3 separate regions of the Homo sapiens genome follow, and regions 1 and 3 are each linked to region 2. The links are contacts of gene promoters, found by promoter capture Hi-C in blood cells and fetal thymus (Javierre and others, 2016). All regions are on one chromosome and are shown on one strand. Each heading gives the region's core, a stretch centred on a gene start or on the middle of the fragment in contact. The rest is flanking DNA. Distances are from core to core; before and after follow the strand shown.

The links. Contacts are between HindIII fragments. The CHiCAGO score rates a contact against its expected background, and 5 or more counts as called.
Region 1: a fragment that was not itself captured here is called in contact with the fragment with the promoter of CD2 in region 2 in 6 of 17 cell types (naive CD4 T cells, total CD4 T cells, M0 macrophages and 3 more); the score reaches 8.1 in naive CD4 T cells.
Region 3: a fragment that was not itself captured here is called in contact with the fragment with the promoter of CD2 in region 2 in 1 of 17 cell types (total CD4 T cells); the score reaches 5.4 in total CD4 T cells.

Annotation. Positions count from the first base shown.
Region 1 is chr1:116,927,377-116,930,529 of GRCh38, forward strand. The region is part of intron 1 of PTGFRN (prostaglandin F2 receptor inhibitor); the gene reads left to right. Among named protein-coding and RNA genes, the nearest start is that of PTGFRN, 19 kb to the left of the region's middle. The HindIII fragment of the contact is 759 bases long and covers 1,400-2,158 here.
Region 2 is chr1:116,752,771-116,755,778 of GRCh38, forward strand. It overlaps CD2 (CD2 molecule), which reads left to right and starts at 1,660. Exons shown (of 5, transcript NM_001767.5): 1 at 1,660-1,783; 2 at 1,861-2,181. The coding sequence starts at 1,723. RefSeq lists promoters at 1-1,777, 1,335-1,777, a silencer at 1-413 and a cis regulatory region at 247-276. The HindIII fragment of the contact is 7,255 bases long and covers 1-3,008 here.
Region 3 is chr1:116,948,939-116,951,948 of GRCh38, forward strand. It overlaps PTGFRN (prostaglandin F2 receptor inhibitor), which reads left to right. Exons shown (of 9, transcript NM_020440.4): 4 at 254-634. Among named protein-coding and RNA genes, the nearest start is that of PTGFRN, 41 kb to the left of the region's middle. The HindIII fragment of the contact is 481 bases long and covers 1,432-1,912 here.

The sequences.
Region 1 (3,153 bases), core at 529-3,028, 170 kb after region 2:
AAAACTGGAAGCAATGTCATAGTTATATGATCTAGTGCTTTACTAGTAAGAAGGAATTCAGTTAGTTAATGATCCAGTCTTGAAGAAGTACCGTGCATTTTTGTTCCTCACTTGTTGGTGGCACTGTATGTCTTTCTGCCTTGCTTACCTTTTTTTTTTTTTTTTTTTGATACAGGGTCTCGACCTGTTCCCTGTTGCCCAGGCTGGAGTGCAGTGGTGCAATCATGACTCACTGCAACCTTTGCTTCCCAGGCTCAAGCCATCTTCCTGCCTCAGCCTCCCAAATAGCTAGGACCATAGGCACATGCCACCATGCCCAGCTAATTAAATTTTTTTTTTTTTTATAGAGACGAGATCTATGTTGCCCAGGCTGGTCTTGCACTATTGGCTTCAAGCCATCTTCCCACTTCAGCCTTCCAAAGTGCTGGGATTACAGGTGTGATGCAGGAGGTAATGGTTGTCTTGGCAGCAAAAACTAAGAAAAGTTGCATTGACTTTGAAGAGCCTGTCAGTACTGATGAAATGCAAAGTCTTTGTCGCCTCCTTTCTAATCTTGTTTGATTTGGAGAACATGCGTATGAAGGCTGAAAGAAGATTTCCAGATATAAATGGCAGGATAGATAACATTAGAGCCAGAACTGCCATGTAAATGTCAATTAGAAACAAGATTTAAGTCTCTGGACCACCCTTCTTACCCCCTGTGGCCTGTTGGTCACACTGCCCCTTCCTCGTGTTTCTGTAGCCAGGCACAGGCTAACGAGGACTCAGAGAGTGCCTGCTATGATAATTTTAGCCCCTGGAAAAAATAACAGACTTTGTGAGATTTAATGGCCACACCTGGGCCTTGTCATCACTTAGTATTCTTTCACCTTTTTGATTGTCAATTCTGATATTTCCCTCTGTGACCACAACCTCCTTGCTTTACTCCTTTCAGATTCCCTCCTATCTGTTGAACCTATTCTTCATCCTAATTGTGATTCCCTGATTTTGAACATTCTTCCTTTTCAGTCCATCAGGCCATTCTCACTTTACTTGGCTCTGAATCCAGGGTAGACTCTGGTGGTCAGCATTTCAGCAGTGAGCTTGTTAACAACCTGGGACCCTCTGTCATATTTCTTTGCCAGACCTCACATTGTATTACATTTCAGTAATTCACACCAATCGTAGTTTGTAAGCCTGAACTTTATTATCTTGCTGGGGAAAATCTCAAAGTCTGCCCATCTGAGATTCCAGCAAAGTCCTGGCATCTTTACCGCAGCTCAGCTCTCCTTTGTGTTCCTTTTGTGATGGTTTCCTATTATATTTCTTCTGATGCTTATTCTAAACCTTTGTCAGGATCTTTAGCATCTGAACTCCTTTCTACTATTTTACTGAGACAATAGAGACCAAAGAAACCTCAAGCTTTTGCCTCAAAACTTTTTAATATTTTTACTCCTTTTCTCTGTCTAACCTGAAAAAAAGTAAGGGCTCTATCTTTGGCTCTTTTTCCTCTCTATGTGTATTCTTTCCCCAAGTGACCCCAGGCAACCTGTGGCTTTAAATACTCTGTGTGTGCTGATGACTCTCTAGTGAGTATCTCCAGCTTGGACCTCCCCACTGAGCTCCAGACTTAAACATCCAGCTGCCTACTCCACTGCACTTCCACTTGGTGTCTGATAGGGACCTCACATTTAAAATGACCAGAAGACAACTCTTGCTTTCCTTGGTACAGATTTGCTTCCCTCTAATTACTTTGCTGTCTCAGTAAGTGGCATCACCCTGTATGCCAGATGCTCAAGCCAGAAGCCTAGATCATTCTTGATTGCTCTCTTCTTCATTCCCCACATTCAAAAAGTCAGTTTGTCTTTTCATTCATACACAAGTTAAGTCCTGAATCTGACTACTCCTGAGAGTCACCACCACTGTCAACCAAGGCCGGTGTTCATCAGCTTTTGCTTGGTCTACAGAAACTTCCCCCATGCTGGTGTCCTTGCTTCCAAATTGGCCCCATATAATCTGTCTTTCCCACAGCAGTCAGACTGAAATTTCTACAAAGAAAGTAGGCTCTATCGTTTTCTCGTTGATGTGCTTCCCATTTCAACCAGAATCCAGGGCCCCTGCCCCCTCATTCATTGTGATCAGTCACAGTGATCTTTTTTTTCTGTACTTTAAACACCCAAGCTTGCTCCATCACAGTGCTTTTATATTTGCTGTTCTGTGTCTGGAGCAGTTTTGCCCCAGAGCTTCAATCACTGTCTCTTCGTCATTCTGGTCTAAACTCAGACATGACCCTCTCAGAGAGGCCTTTCCTGACCACACTTCATATTGTCATATTTTAACTGAATAGCATTTGTCAGTGGGTCTACTTCATCACTGTCTCTTTCCTAGAACACAGTTTTCTTGCAGGCAGGGACTGGTGGCCATGTGTCCCCAGTGCCTAGAAGGTGCTTTGGGGGACTGACTGGCTGACTTTGCAGGATGAACCCCCTGCTTGCTGCTTCAGTGCCTTTTTCATGGTTGTGCCTTCTCTTCCCTACATCTTTGTTCCTTCTCTCCTGGCTCTTACTTTCCAGATCCCATACCCGTCATTGAAAATGCGCTTTCCTGGAGGTTGCCAGTGATTACTTAGCCATCAGTTCATTTCTCTTTTCTCAGCACCCACCTTCCTTGACTTTTCTGCATGTTTGACATTGTTGTTCATTTTTTTCAAACAAAGGCATATAGTAGGAGTCTGCTTTAGATATTGTGCAGGATGCAGATATGGGTAGGAAACAGCTCCTGCTTTAAAGGAGCTTGCAGTCTGCCAGGAGCAAGTAGATGAGTAATGTTCATAAAGAAACAGTAAGTGTTACTTCAAACCCTTTCTTGAAATTCTTGCATCCCTTGGCTGCTAGGGCATAAGCCTTTCCTGGTTTTCTTCCTAACTGGTTACTATTTCTTTTTTCTGTGCTGACTCTTTTTCTTCTGCTCATGCCTTAAACATAGGACTTTGCTGTGGTTTTGTCCCATTCCCTCTTTTCTATACAGTAATCTGTCTCCCGATGGTGTCATCGACTCCCACGTCTTCACTGCTGGGCAGATTTCCTTTTTACCCCCCACTCCCTCCGTGCATGTGACTCCACATTGATGTTAGGCTCAAATATCTTCTAGGGGTTTCCATTCCAACTGTCCGGT
Region 2 (3,008 bases), core at 410-2,909:
ATATTAATAATTTTATATATATTGCAAATATTTTGTCACGCCTTTTCATTTTGTTCCTTATTTCTTCATCTGCATGTAAATCTTACTTCTTTATATCATCAGTTGTGTTCATCTTTTCTTTCTTACTTTGGATTATATGTTATATGTAGCCAGGCCTTCCATACTCAAACTATAGGAATATCTTTCTATATTGTCCTTTTAGCATTATTGTTATTATTTTATTTATTTAGTTATTTATTTTGAGACAGAGTCTCACTCTGCTCCCCAGGCTGGAGTGCAGTGGCACAATCCTGGCTCACTGCAACCTCCGCTTCCCAGATTCAAGCAATTTGCCTGCCTCAGCCTCCTGAGTAGCTGGGATTACAGGCGCACATCACCACACCTGGCTAATTTTTGTATTTTTAGTAGAGATGGGTTTCACCATGTTGGCCAGGCTGGTCTTGAACTCCTGACCTCAGGTGAGGAGGTCCGCCTCGACCTCCCAGAGTGCTGGGATTATAGCTGTGATCCACCACCCCCGGCCTCCTTTTAGCATTATTATAGTATTTTTGCATTTAAAACTTTAATCCAACTGTAGTTCATTATTGTGGATGACGCTCATACAACCATGAGGTAAATATTTGGCTTTCTTTTACCCAGTAACAGCAAACAACTGCTTTGACTTAATTTCATTTCCTTGGCAACTTTCTGACAGATAATATCCATATTTGTACTTAAAGTTGAAAAAGAAAACGAGCACCACTTTTGCAATTTTTACTCACTGTGACCTAAAGAATTATAACCCTGAAAATGTGCTTTGGAAGTCTGTCATGGTTATTTCTCTTTTTAGGCATCTTTTCAGGGCACACCCGTCTCTGCATCACTGTCTGTTTCCTTGTGTCACAAATTTCTGTTCTTTTTTTCTCTCCCTGTTCCCTCTCATTTATTTTTTCTCCTAATCTCTCCTTTTTCTTAACCACCTATAATGTTAATCACTTTAAATGCTTTTGACTCCTTTGTTTTGGTAGTTTAATTATATTTCATAGTCTCTATGCTTCTTTGTTTTGGAATAAGTTTTTATTTATCTAACTGTGAATTTCACTAGAGTTGTAAAATGTATGCCGAACATAGGATTTGGGGATTGCAAGCATTTACAGCTGATATTCAATTTCTTTCTTTTCACCACAAAAACGATTTTAGAACATGAAAAATATCTTTGGAGAAACAAAAAAATCAATTTCCTCATCATTTTATGGGTCTACATTTTTCAATATAATCATATGGGATAAATGTTTGCATTCTGCTATTGGCTTGTGAACATTTACCTATATTTCTATGTGGTCTTGTTAGGGACAGTATACCTAAGTGGATAAAAGGCTGTGTGGTTGAATTTGGCTTCTTGTTTACAAAAGAGTGATCCTTAGTGATCTACTTAGCCTCTCTGTTCCTTTTCTCTTTCACTGAGATGAGAAAACCTATCCTTCCCAATTTTTTTGTGTGAGAATTAAAATGCAGCAAGAAAACACACACTCATAAACACATCTGCTTTGGCAAAGGAGCACATCAGAAGGGCTGGCTTGTGCGCGCTCTTGCTCTCTGTGTATGTGTATTATGTTTTATGTTACTGTAAAAGATGTAAAGAGAGGCACGTGGTTAAGCTCTCGGGGTGTGGACTCCACCAGTCTCACTTCAGTTCCTTTTGCATGAAGAGCTCAGAATCAAAAGAGGAAACCAACCCCTAAGATGAGCTTTCCATGTAAATTTGTAGCCAGCTTCCTTCTGATTTTCAATGTTTCTTCCAAAGGTAAGCATAAGAGTCAAAGAAGTCCCAACCCAGCTTTCCCTGAAAGTGACTCTCAGTAACTCTTTTGCTTTTTATAGGTGCAGTCTCCAAAGAGATTACGAATGCCTTGGAAACCTGGGGTGCCTTGGGTCAGGACATCAACTTGGACATTCCTAGTTTTCAAATGAGTGATGATATTGACGATATAAAATGGGAAAAAACTTCAGACAAGAAAAAGATTGCACAATTCAGAAAAGAGAAAGAGACTTTCAAGGAAAAAGATACATATAAGCTATTTAAAAATGGAACTCTGAAAATTAAGCATCTGAAGACCGATGATCAGGATATCTACAAGGTATCAATATATGATACAAAAGGAAAAAATGTGTTGGAAAAAATATTTGATTTGAAGATTCAAGGTAAGTGTTCATTCCCTTAATTGCTTTATTTCAGTGTGGGTGCTATTTGGCAAGTTGGAAAATAGCATTTCTAATATTCCCCAGCGCTGACCTCTGCCTCCAGGGGGGCTATACAGGAAACCAGATGCATGTCTCCTGCCCCAGTGGAGACTGTGGTCCAATGCGGGAATGGGATCCACACATCTGATAGACCCTCAAGTCTACCTGCCTACAACTCTGTCTTCAGGTGGTTACAGGAATGTGGGGTTGGGTGAAGAACCTGGATTAAGGTGGCATTAATCGGGAGGGGGACACAGGTAGGCCGAGGGAAAAGGCAACTGTTCCAGGTTGCTGATGAATCGGCGAGCTAAGAGTGGGGCGAGAAGAAGAGGCTGACTGGAGAGCAGCGGGCCTTTCATCGACAGAGCCCATTTCAAGCCAGGCTGCCCTGAAGGAGGAGTTATATGGCAGAAAAGGGCTGGAAACAACATATTTAAGGATGAACAGCCCTTATTTTGGATCTGCTTGTCAGAGTGATACAAGGTGGCAGGTGATTTTTGCTGATATGTGTAGAAGATGCACAAGGTGTGGCTTTGTATATCTCTGCCTGTACTGGGAGGACAGGAGTGGATATTGAGGATGGGGTTAGGGAGACTAGTTAGAAAGCTGCTGCTGTAATCCAAGTGGAGTGAGGACCAATTAAATCAGATTTTTTTTGCATGCGGCCTGGGTATCATTAGGTTCTAAAGCTCCCTGGGGGATTCTAATGAGCTGCCAAAGTCAATCGCCACTGGCCTAGACCAAAGGGTGCCTCTAAAATAGGAAGAATGAGGATAATAAGGGTCAGG
Region 3 (3,010 bases), core at 422-2,921, 200 kb after region 2:
GAACACTGCCTGGCATATATAGCAGATATATGTAAATGTTTGCGGCTATTGTTGTTTTTATAAAATAAGAAGAAATGTGGTATGTTCTGTTAATTTATTCATTAAATATTTCTCAAGCACTTACAACTGTACAAAGCCTTCTAACTTTAATGCTGTAAATAAGAACTTAAAAGGAGATGCTTTAAAGAGGGTGGAGAATAGAAGGGGCAAACATAATCAGATTACCTAGATGTATTTGTTTTTAATTTTCAAGTTCTGCGAGCAGCTGTGCCCAAGAATGTGTCTGTGGCTGAAGGAAAGGAACTGGACCTGACCTGTAACATCACAACAGACCGAGCCGATGACGTCCGGCCCGAGGTGACGTGGTCCTTCAGCAGGATGCCTGACAGCACCCTACCTGGCTCCCGCGTGTTGGCGCGGCTTGACCGTGATTCCCTGGTGCACAGCTCGCCTCATGTTGCTTTGAGTCATGTGGATGCACGCTCCTACCATTTACTGGTTCGGGATGTTAGCAAAGAAAACTCTGGCTACTATTACTGCCACGTGTCCCTGTGGGCACCCGGACACAACAGGAGCTGGCACAAAGTGGCAGAGGCCGTGTCTTCCCCAGCTGGTGTGGGTGTGACCTGGCTAGGTGAGTGGTTTGGAGAATGACTCTTAACCTCTTCAGCTTAACCCCTCCTCGGAGTTATCTGAAGGAGTTATCTCAGGAGGCTCTGCGCTTTGCATGACTTCGACATTATTTCTATTGGTTCATGCATACTTTGGCCCAGATAGATCCCAAGCTGGGGATGAAATAGAATCTGGCAGACAAGGGAAATGTTTAGATAATGTGGCCTCAGTTGTCTCAATACCCTCATTTGAGAGTATATAGTTTCCTTTTGTTGTCGACATTTGCAGGGTCAGGGCACTGCTGAATGGCTCTTTGAAATGAATCTTTGTTGGAGGGAGAACACTGCCATTCTTCCTTTGTTTCTCTTAGACTCCTAGGTGCTCCCTGGCAGGAGCTGGTGCTTTTCCAAAGCCCAATGCAGAAAGATAATTCCTTCAGTTATTAGAAAGCATTTTTTTTTTCACGTCACGCCCTGGAATCCCACAATATATCTGTATATACCACTTACAACTAAAGGGCCCGCCTGCTTCTATAGGCTTGTTTTGTGGACGCTCTCACCCCAGGTGTAATTTCCCCAGTGGAGGAGCAGAGTAGCTCTCAAGTGTTGAGCACCTTGCCACCCATTTTATAACAACCTGCCGTATATGTGGAGATCTTTGGCATGTCCTCTTACTTTATACTAAGCTCCTTTTCCCCTACCTCTTTTTTCCCTAAATGTTTGCCCTCTGGGCAAAATGTACACTAACTTTTCCTAATTTTTGTTATGTCTTGTAATTGCAAGTAATCAAAGGAGGGATGGGGTCAAGCTGGGTGTGGAAAGCTTCGCTCCCCACCTCCATTATTACAGAGATGGGACAGGCCTTTCATCACATTCCCCCCTGTTTTGATCTCTCTACTGTCCGTGAGTGCCTGAGCCCTGATAAAGGCATTTGGCATTGCTCTGATTATTAGCAGGCAAAACAGATCTTTAAAGGCCAGGAAACCATTTCCTCCTTTGTCTGATTCTTCTGCTATGACCTCCAACTCATACTTATCTATTCCTTATCTCTGCATGGAAATCTTCTCTTGGGTTAGTGGCATATTCGCTCTCCTTTTTTTTTTCCTCCCCAGTAAGCCTTTATTTGGCAAAGATGGGGAGTTGGCCAGTGGAGACAGAGGGGGCAGGGAGAAGAAGAGCAATGAGAGTAAGCGGAAGGGACAATCCGATTCCGATGGAGACGAGGCAGGGTGTTCATCAGCCCTGTTAGCAAAGTAATCCTTTGATATCTGAAAAGTAAAAGAAGCGGGGTTTATCTGGCAAGCTTTTTATTCCTGCCGTCTGAACCCCATGCAAGAGAGTCACTATGAAGTACTGAACTGGAACAATGTTGGCCCAGCTAGAACTCTCCTTAGCAACCTTCAAAATAAAACAGATGTTGTCAGCACCAAAAGAAGATTTTTCATCTCTGGAGCTGAATTTGTCTCACAGCTCTGATCCTTAGTGTATTGTATGGTGCTGTCAAATCCCAGCACTGGCTCTCCGTACCCGCTCCCCCTTCAGCTTCTGAATCCCAACTCGAGGACTTTTTTTTTTTTAATTGAAAGTGCTGCTTGCACTCCAATTTGAGGCTTCTTTGAAGTACGTGTGCATTGATCCCGGCATACCCGGGGGGAGATGCAGGGACTGTCAGACAACAGGAGCGGAGCTCTAGGAGGAATGGGCTCCTTTAACTGGAAGGGATTTGTTGGTAGCTGTGTTCTCCAGAGAGTGAAAAGAAATAAAGAGACTAAATTGTGGAAAAGGCTCAGTTACTATCCAAAGGATCCCGTCATTTGTTTTCCTTTGGAGTGCTACTACCATTGTGAAAGTCATCAGTGTGCTTTTCCTGACTGATGCTAACAGATACAGAACCTGCACCTTCCCTGCTGCTTTGCATGTAATAAGCACTCAATAAATATTAGCTGAACGGGTAAATAAACCAGTACCCACACATGGATTTTGTTAAAATATGTGCATAGGAAAGCTAGAATTGCTAAGAAAGCAGTAATGTTCAACTCCTAGGATATTCAGAGATATTTGCCCCTGAGTAAACCTAACGAAAGAGCGAGTAGTATGAAAAACAATTGCATTCTTTTTTTTTTCTTCCTCTTAAGACTTCTCCTCCTTCCCTGTGCCTATGACTCAGACCATTACAGCTGCTTGGACACTTGTCAGGAGCGGGTAGGGCATGAGCATAGCAGCAGACCCTTCTCAAAGACTTCCCCGCTGGACTCTGTCCAGAAGCCAGTGAGCCTGGCCTGACACTCCATGGTTGTCTCTAGATATGTAATGTGCATGTATATGCGTACGGATACCATACCACATACAACTTGGGACCAATATAAGGTAACCGAGAAGTGACCAAAAAAGATAGACAG